Regions from separate parts of the Homo sapiens genome. Here regions 1 and 3 are each linked to region 2. Evidence: promoter capture Hi-C in human tissues and cell types (Jung and others, 2019). All regions are on one chromosome and are shown on one strand. The core of a region is centred on a gene start or on the middle of the fragment in contact, and the rest is flanking DNA. Distances in the headings are between cores, read along the strand shown.

Region 1 (2,808 bases), core at 309-2,808, 730 kb after region 2:
CGGGCAGATCACCTAAGGTCAGGAGTTCAAGACCAGCCTGGCCAACATGGCGAAACCCCATCTCTACTAAAAATACAAAAAATTAGCCGGACGTGGTAGCGGGCACCTGTAATCCCAGCTGCTTGGAGACTGAGGCAGGAGAATTGCTGTAACCCAGGAGGCGGAGGTTGCAGTGAGCTGAGATCTCGCCACTTCACTGCATACTCCAGCCTGGGCAACAGAGCGAGACTCCAACTCAAAAAAACAGACAAACACACAGAAAACCAAAAATCTAATAAAAAAAAATCTAAGCCTATAGCCTGCTGTTTCTGAAAGCTATGTTCCTCTTGTCCCCACGCTGCTTTCTCGCATTGAGGGCCAAGCTCCTCGGCTGCGTGCCTTGAAAGTCATACACCTGTTGGATTTCATTCTGTTGCAAGCCTTATTTAATAACAAGGACATGGGCCTGAATCATATCTCCCGGAAAGTGGTATTGAGAATTAAGTGGTAATCGTAAAACTTGTTAAGCCTTTTGGTTAAAGGTGATGAAAGAATTGTTTATTTTCCCCAACTGCCTGTTTAATGGCAGTGTTTTGTAGTATTATGTGTTTCTTTTTTTTTTAACCAGCAGATAGTTTCTATAACTCAAATTATTACATTCCAGAGACCTGAAAAGGTCCCTAGATCGCAGAATAGAAAGAGTAAGGAGGCAGTGCTGTTGTGTATCCAACCTGTTAGGAAGATTTATCTGTTAGCAGAAGTTTATGTCTCCCTCTGATAGTCACTGAGTTTGCAGCCAGAAGAACATTTAGGAAATTTAATTGTTTTCTTTTGAATAATTGCTAAGATGTATTGCCAAGGCCATAAATACACTTTATCATGAGTCAGAATTTCACTTTGTACTTCAGTCTTTGAGCTTTAATAATTTCATGCCTTCAAAATGCAGTCTTGCTATTGTGGGAACCCATTGCTCCAGCCTTCTTCAATCGTTCATCTAGGCCTGGCGCAGTGGCTCATGCCTGTAATCCCAGCACTTTGGGAGACCGAGGCGGGTGGATCACCTGAGGTCAGGAGTTCGAGACCAGCCTGGCCAACATGGTGAAACCCCGGCTCTACTAAAAATGCAAAATTAGGCGAGCATGGTGGTGGGTGCCTGTAGTCCTAGCTACTTGGGAGGCTGAGGCAGGAAAATTGCTTGAGCCCAGGAGGTGGAGGTTGCAGTGAGTCAAGATCGCACCACTGCACTCCAGCCTGGGCGACAGAGCAAGACTCTGTCTCAGAAATAAACAAATAAATAGAAAACAGTTCATCTAGCAAAAAAGAAATTCACCCCAGTTTAATTGCAGGGAGGGGAGGGATGATTCAAGTTAGAAATGGGATGAGGCATTAATTATTCATTTTCCTTTGCTGGCAAAAAAAAATGGAGGATTTTAAATTTTTTTGTTCTCCTTTTACAGCCAGAAAAATCCTATTTGCTAATTCTAAACTTAATATTTTTTGAAAGGGTATCCTAGTGAGATATTGTTCATTGATATCAAATTTTAGTGAGCCACAGTTTCAAAGAGTTTTAATAAAAGACTATCAAAAGACTGGGTGTGGTGGCTCATGCCTGTAATCCCAGCACTTTGGGAGGCCGAGGCAGATGGATCACCTGAGGTCAGGAATTTGAGACCAGCCTGGCCAACATGGTGAAACCCCATCTCTACTAAAAATACAAAAAATTAGCCGGGCGTGGTGGCGGGTGCCTGTAATCCAAGCTACTGAGGAGGCTGAGGCCGGAGAATCACTTGAACCCAGGAGGCAGAGGTTGCAGTGAGCCAAGATCACGCCATTGCACTCCAGCCTGGGCAACAAGAGCAAAAGTTCATCTTAAAAAAAAAAAAAAAGACTATCATAAAACAATTACATTTTGTTTAAAAAAAAAGGAGTTTTTTTTGCATAAGCTTTATTACATAGGCAAAATTGGGTGACTTGAGGAGAAGCTGTTATATTGGCAAACCTTCTTCCCTCTCCAGATAGACGGTGATCTGGCATTTTCATATCATAGCTGTATGAGTGCAGCCTTGAGGGGACATGCCAGTCTAGTCGATGTGAAATCAATGGGATATTCCCGTTGGTTCATCTCTTCATACCATGCAGCCACAGATCCGTGATAATCCACACATACTATTGGCTGTCTAATTACAGAGCAAATAATATCCTCTTACTTGAAGGAATTTTTACTTGTGTTCAGAAAAATAACACATCTTTCAAAGTCATTCTGGTTTTGAGAAATACATTTTATAATAGAATGAGTCTCTGTCTTTCCTGGCAAGGCAGGTAGGGGGCACTAGTCTATTTTACTGAGGAAGCTGGGGCAAGAGCCAATAAGGGCTGCCCCTGTAATTATACATTCTCTGGGAATTAATCATTTTGCTCAATTCTAGGAAAAGTCTCTCAGTTCTTACCCAAGTGCTATTCTTATTTTAGGGAATAGCTAACTTACTTAGTTTTCTAATATAACCACAACAGATCAGAAGCAGTAAATTTTAAAAGGCTAACACTAAAAGCAGAAAGAAACAATGACTGAACAGTAAGTGAAAGGTGAAGCACTAAGAGGCAGACATTCTGGGATTCTTCTTAAAAAGCAGCATTCTGGGGCATTCGATGTAAGGAGGGGCGAACAGTCTTCACCCGTGACTGTTCCTTGTGCACTAGTGCCTTGTATTATGCTTCCGAGCAAGAAAAAGAAATTCTTTTCCCCATGCTCTGAATAGGAAGTCAAGGAAACATGCAGTTTATTTTAGCTTGCCAACAAAAACTACACACACACACACACACACACAGCTT
Region 2 (2,851 bases), core at 238-2,737:
GCAGGTGGGAATCTGTAGAATTCCCCGGCGATTGGTTGGGATTTCTCAGGGAGAAAGGAGGCGAGGTCCTGACCTGTGGTGGAGGGGCTGGGGCATTGAGAGTTTGAGAAGAGATGGGAGGGTGTTGAGCACTGATATGGTTTGGCTGTGTCCCCACCCAAATCTCATCTTGAGTTGTAGCTCCCATAATTCTCTCGTGTTGTGTGAGGGACTTGGTGGGAGATAATTGAATCATGGGGATGGAGAACAAAGCCAAGCCAATATCTTGACTTTAGCTCAGCGAGACTGAGTTTGAACTCCTGATCTCCAGAACTGTAAGATAATAACTTGCATCGTTTTAAGCCACTCACTTTGTGATAATTAATTATAGCAGCCTTAGGAAACCAGCACGGGGGTGAGGCTGCACCCTGCCCAGGAAGCCAGAGACGACCAGCTACGCAGGGACTTTAGCTCGAACCTGATTAGGTCAGTGGACACCGCCCCCATCCCCAGGACGGGGAGGTGGCTGGGGCCACTGCAGCCACAGCATGTGTCTGCTCACATGGGGCTTATTTTTAAAGGGATTGTCCTCACCTGCTGCTGTCTGTGTTTATAAAGTTGGCTAGAGAGGAGAAATCTTCCTTTGCCAGTTTTCAGCTTTAGCTCTGATATTTGCCTGGAACATAGTAGGTGCTCAATAAACAATATCTCTGGATATTGTTAGTAATATGTGACCCTATTTGAAGAACTCAGAAGGGGCACTGGGCAAGTCTACAAGAGATGGCAATTCTGTAATTCCTGTGTGGTATTTTCTGAATTCTGCACATTTTAACCTAGGCTATGAGACAGTGTGACTTTCTTCAACAAATTAGTTAATTCTTCAAATTAACTCCAATTTCAACAGCATGGTGATGTTAAAGGCATTGGAAATTCAGCCACAGATGTTAAAGACCATCAGCACGGTCACATAGTAAGATGCTACTTTCAAGCCACGAATAACCCAACCAGTTATTGGTCTTATGAAATCTTGTAAGCCATCCCAGAGAGACTAATTTAATTTTTATGATTCAGAATTTGCAGGCTGTAACTGGTCAGTCCATGCGAACTCTGGTGGCTGCATTCAGCCCTGACATGTTTCACCTGACTTTGATATAAGGAGCTACTGGAACCTTCCTACGAGTTCTAAAACCTTTCCCTCCTCCTCCTGTTCTGGAAAAGCAATTAAGACCCAAACTAGGCATGAAATAAAAGTCTCTTAAATTGATTTAGAATTATTTTTAAAAAGTACCCTCACAGAAGTGGAAAATTTTGCCAATAGGTAGGTGTAAAAGGAAGTTTTTTGTTTTTCTAAGAGACACAGATTTCCTCTCATATTGTACTCTCATAAAAGAAAAAAAAAAGGTGGTCATTTACTTACTCAGGCAGAAAATGAAGGCGTTCACAACTGTAGTTGGGTTTTCTGATAGTGAGAGCTGCTTTTGGAGGAGTTTTCTCTTCTGGGAAGTGCTGTGGAGATGTGGTTGCTTTAAATTATATAACCTCCGCTCCAGTGATGTCATTGTGGGGATTGCCGCAAAAGTGAGTCTTTCGGGACTCACTCCAAGTGGATTTGGAAGGAAAAATCCACTCTCATTTCACTTTGCACTTTAGGGATGATAAGAGATTATTCAGCTACCATCTCCCCCTTTACTTTGGTACCATCTGCAGAGGTCTGCAATCCTGCCCAAGACCTGTATGTTGGCAAACACGCCCTAAAAACATGTTTTGACATCGCCAACTTGCCCCAAGGCTCGCAAAGTGTCAGTGAACATTGAGGGATGGCTTTTGGCCCCTTCACTATTGGCTTCTGAATGTCTGGGGCTCTGCAGCAGCTTTTGTGGGAGCCACTTCGAATGGCCTCTTTTGAATTTTGGTCATGAAAGATACATCGCCAAGAATCCATCAGAGTGGACCCATCACACAAACAGAGAGCTAGGAAAACGTTTGACTCATGCAATGTTCAGAGTTGAGTAAGACCAGATACATTTTTTCCTAATCCTCCTTGGCGTCTCTCAAATTATGTCTGCATGGGTCAAGTTGAACTACTCAAGACCTCATGTTTCAGACAGTAAGATATTTTTGGCTTTGAGAATCAGGTGACAAGATTCTCCAACTGAAGGCCCCTTACCTGTCAACTTACAAATTAAGATCTTTCCAGGCCACCCCCTACACGTAGGAGAACTCATTCATGCCAGAATTCAGGACTTCGAGTCTGACTTCTGGAAAGGTGACCCTCCAAATGTTTGGAGCAGAAGGTGTCACCTCTGTCTTTAGAATCTTGCCTTTTGCTTGTGTTCCCTTTTTCTGCTAGTGACATCTCAGCGGGAGCCAACTGCACTTCAAGTTTTCCTGCTGTCTTCTCCTGTTGCTGAAGACCTTAAAACTGTGGAAGTAGGTGGAACAAATAGCATTCTGAGGCTCAGTAGCGGATGTACATTTCAGGGAAGAAGCTGGAATTTGCCTTAGAGGATAGGATGGTCCCCTCCTATCAGGAGAGACCTCCTGGGTGGGATTTTTAATAAAAAAAAATTGTCAACAGGCAAGCATCTTCCATTACTCCCGGGATAGATCTGAACCGGAGGAAGGCTCCAAATCTTAGCCTTTCCTGTTACTTAGTAATGTAGGCGGGGGTCTCTCCAGCCCGTGGCTGGCTTATTCTCCCTTCAGTATGAGTTTAGACTATACTGTTTCTGAGAAGCGTTTGTTCTTAGGAGATGTCTCCCTGTTTATTCACCCAGGAGTGCGTATAAGGCCAGCTCTGCCACAAAGAGCACGTGCAGGTCTCATCTCTGCTTTGCCTCTTGCTGGAAGACAGTCTGTGAAGAGAGCTGGC
Region 3 (2,822 bases), core at 132-2,631, 690 kb after region 2:
CGGGTTCAAGCAATTCTCCTACCCCAGCCTCCCTAGCAGCTGGGATTACAGGCATGTGCCACCACACCCAGCTAATTTTTGTATTTTAGTAGAGATGGGGTTTTGCCATGTTGGCCAGCCAGGCTGGTCTCAAACTCTCGACCTTGGGTGATCTGCCCGCCTCGGCCTCACAAAGTACTGGGATTACAGGTGTGAGCCACCCTGCCCGGCCCCACCAAGGCTTTTATAGGCCTGGCACTATGCTGGGTGGGGGACACGGCCAAACAGACTGGCCACTGCCCTTGGAAGCTGCCCAGCTCCTGGTGGATGGCGGTAGGCCATGCAGAGTCAGAGCTGGACTCCCAATTCGCTGGTTTCTAATCCAGTGCCCTTCTAGGGCCCATGAATGTATGTTAAGATGCGTTGGGGAACGCTCACCAAGGCACCAGGTCAGAAGTGAGAAAAACAAGGTCTTCTTTGCTGTGATCCTTATTTCTTGGACTCTCACAGCCTTGAGACAATATGAGCCAGAGTAGTGTTGGACCTGGAGCGCCCCCTCCAGTTTTGTTGCTGAAAATGCAGCCCCCATTCCATGTCCACAAGAGACAGTGTCTCCCATTCTGCTCTGGGGTCAAGGCTGATTTGGCTGCTATTAATGTCCCTGGTGTGAAACAGGTTCCTCTTACAACATGCCCAGAGTCAAAAGAGAGTGCCCTCCTTTATCCCACCCCAGGGGGTTCCAGCTCTTGCAGGGCCCTGCCTTCCTCCTTCCCCTTTCCTCTTGTGTCCAAGTCCTTTCCACTCATCCCATGTGTCCTTCCAGTTTCACCTGAAGCATAACTTCCTCCTGGAAGCTTTACTTGACCACCCCACGCCCAGGTCTCCTTTCATGGAAACAGCCTCCCTGTCCTTCAGTGCCCTTCTATCATCAATGGGATGGTCTGATTAAGGCCTGGCTCCCACTGGCTACCTGTGCACAGCAGCCATGCCCGGTTTAGCTCTCTATTGTGTGCCTGATGTCTTGCACAGTACCTGGCATCAAGTATATATTGTATATAAAAGTGCTTTGATGAATGAATGAATGGAGGGATGGATGGATGAATGAAGACACCTAGACCCATACTAGATAGGCAGGGTTGTTGAGCAAAGGTGCCAGGGAATCCCTCTTCCATATTTCCTGATACAGCAACACCAATTAAAGGCCCCGGGTTAAACAGCAGCAGTTCCTGGCCATTTAACAAACACTCCAGCACTGTGTTAGGAGCTACCATTGAGAAGGGCTTGGGGATAGAGTGGGGGCCAATGTGTTTTCTAGAAAACTTCTTACAAACAATTGATATCAATTTCTCAACAATTGTTCCCACTTAATGATGATGATGATGATGATATAAGATAATATTTATTCAGAGCTTCCAATGCACCAGGTTCTGTTCTGGACATGTTACATGCATTTTTTTTTTCTTTAAAACTCACAAATACTCCCTTAGGTATTACTCTTTTTTTTTTTTTTTTTTTTTTTTTTTTTTTTTTTTTGAGATGGAATCTTGCTCTGTTGCCCAGGCTGGAGTACAGTGGCATGATCTCGGCTCACTGCAACCTCCCCCTCCCGGGTTCAAACGATTCTCCTGCCTCAGCCTCCTAAGTAGCTGGGATTACAGATGCACACCACCACACCTGGCTAATTTTTTTTTTTTTTTTGAGACGGAGTCTCACTCTGTTGCCCAGGCTGGAGTCCAGTGGTGCGATCTTGGCTCACTGCAAGCTCCGCCTCCTGGGTTCTGCCATTCTTCTGCTTCAGCCTCCCAAGTAGCTGGGACTACAGGTGCCCGCCACCACGTCCGGCTGATTTTTTTTGTATTTTTAGTAGAGATAAGGTTTCATCATGTTAGCCAGGACGGTCTCGATCTCCTGACCTCGTGATCCGCTCACCTCGGCCTCCCAAAGTGCTGGGATTACAGGCGTGAGCCACCACACCTGGCCACACCTGGCTAATTTTTAAAAATCTTTAGTTGAGATGGGTTTTCACCATGTTGGCCAGGCTGGTCTCGAACTCCTGACCTCAAGTGATCCACCCACCTCAGCCTCCCAAAGTGCTGGGATTACAGGTGTGAACCACTGTGCTTGGCCTACTCTTTTATTTTATTTATTTATTATTATTAGAGACAAGGTCATATTATGTGGCCCAGGGTGGTCTTGAACTCCTGAGCTCAAGCAATCCACCCTCCTCAGCCTCCCAAAGTGTCAGGATTACAGATGTGAGGCATTGTGCCCAACCAGATGTTACTCTTCTCCCCTCTGACAGGTGAAAAGGCCTGTGGAGTAGAAGGGAGGGGCAGGTTTGCCCAGGGTCTCACAGTAAGAGACAAGCACCATACCAGGTACTGCCTGATCCCAAACCCACAGCGAGGGGAACCCGCGATGCTCGATCACCATGGCGGCACAGCAGTGAGCTTGGACCCTGGGGCTCAGACCGCACCCCCACATGCAGTTTTTTGTGACGCCAATAACACCATCATCACTCTGACCCCACAAACACAGCACAACCCAACAGAAGCTGGTTAGCAAGACTGTTCTCAGCAAGCCACTCCCAGCAGGGACACAGCCGCAGCTGGCTACTTTTCTCCCCAAAGGCCCTGTTCTGGGACATTGACTCATTGACTTTGCAAACTGCCAAGGAGGAAGGCAGCCAGCCAGCATCCTTGTCTTTATTTTCCCTGACACCTGGGCCTCTGAATCCCACACATTAACCAACATCTCTGAGGGTGTCTGGGCCAGGCCTTTGCAGCTGCCAGCAGATTTCCACGGGCATTTGGAAGGACTGGGAGGGTCTACCCCTACCACTC

Evidence for each region. Contacts are between HindIII fragments. The study calls those that stand out against the background at their distance.
Region 1: a contact is called between a fragment that was not itself captured here and the fragment with the promoter of BDKRB1 in region 2, in 1 of the 25 tissues and cell types used here (IMR-90 fibroblasts).
Region 3: a contact is called between a fragment that was not itself captured here and the fragment with the promoter of BDKRB1 in region 2, in 2 of the 25 tissues and cell types used here (IMR-90 fibroblasts and heart left ventricle).

What each region holds. Positions count from the first base shown.
Region 1 is chr14:95,527,077-95,529,884 of GRCh38, reverse strand. No RefSeq gene overlaps it. Among named protein-coding and RNA genes, the nearest start is that of SNHG10, 6.4 kb to the left of the region's middle. The HindIII fragment of the contact is 7,739 bases long and covers 1-2,808 here.
Region 2 is chr14:96,254,846-96,257,696 of GRCh38, reverse strand. BDKRB1 (bradykinin receptor B1) reads right to left here and starts at 1,487. Exons shown (of 3, transcript NM_000710.4): 1 at 1,397-1,487. The HindIII fragment of the contact is 16,224 bases long and covers 1-2,851 here.
Region 3 is chr14:95,564,056-95,566,877 of GRCh38, reverse strand. No RefSeq gene overlaps it. Among named protein-coding and RNA genes, the nearest start is that of LINC02318, 8.1 kb to the left of the region's middle. The HindIII fragment of the contact is 4,366 bases long and covers 1-2,822 here.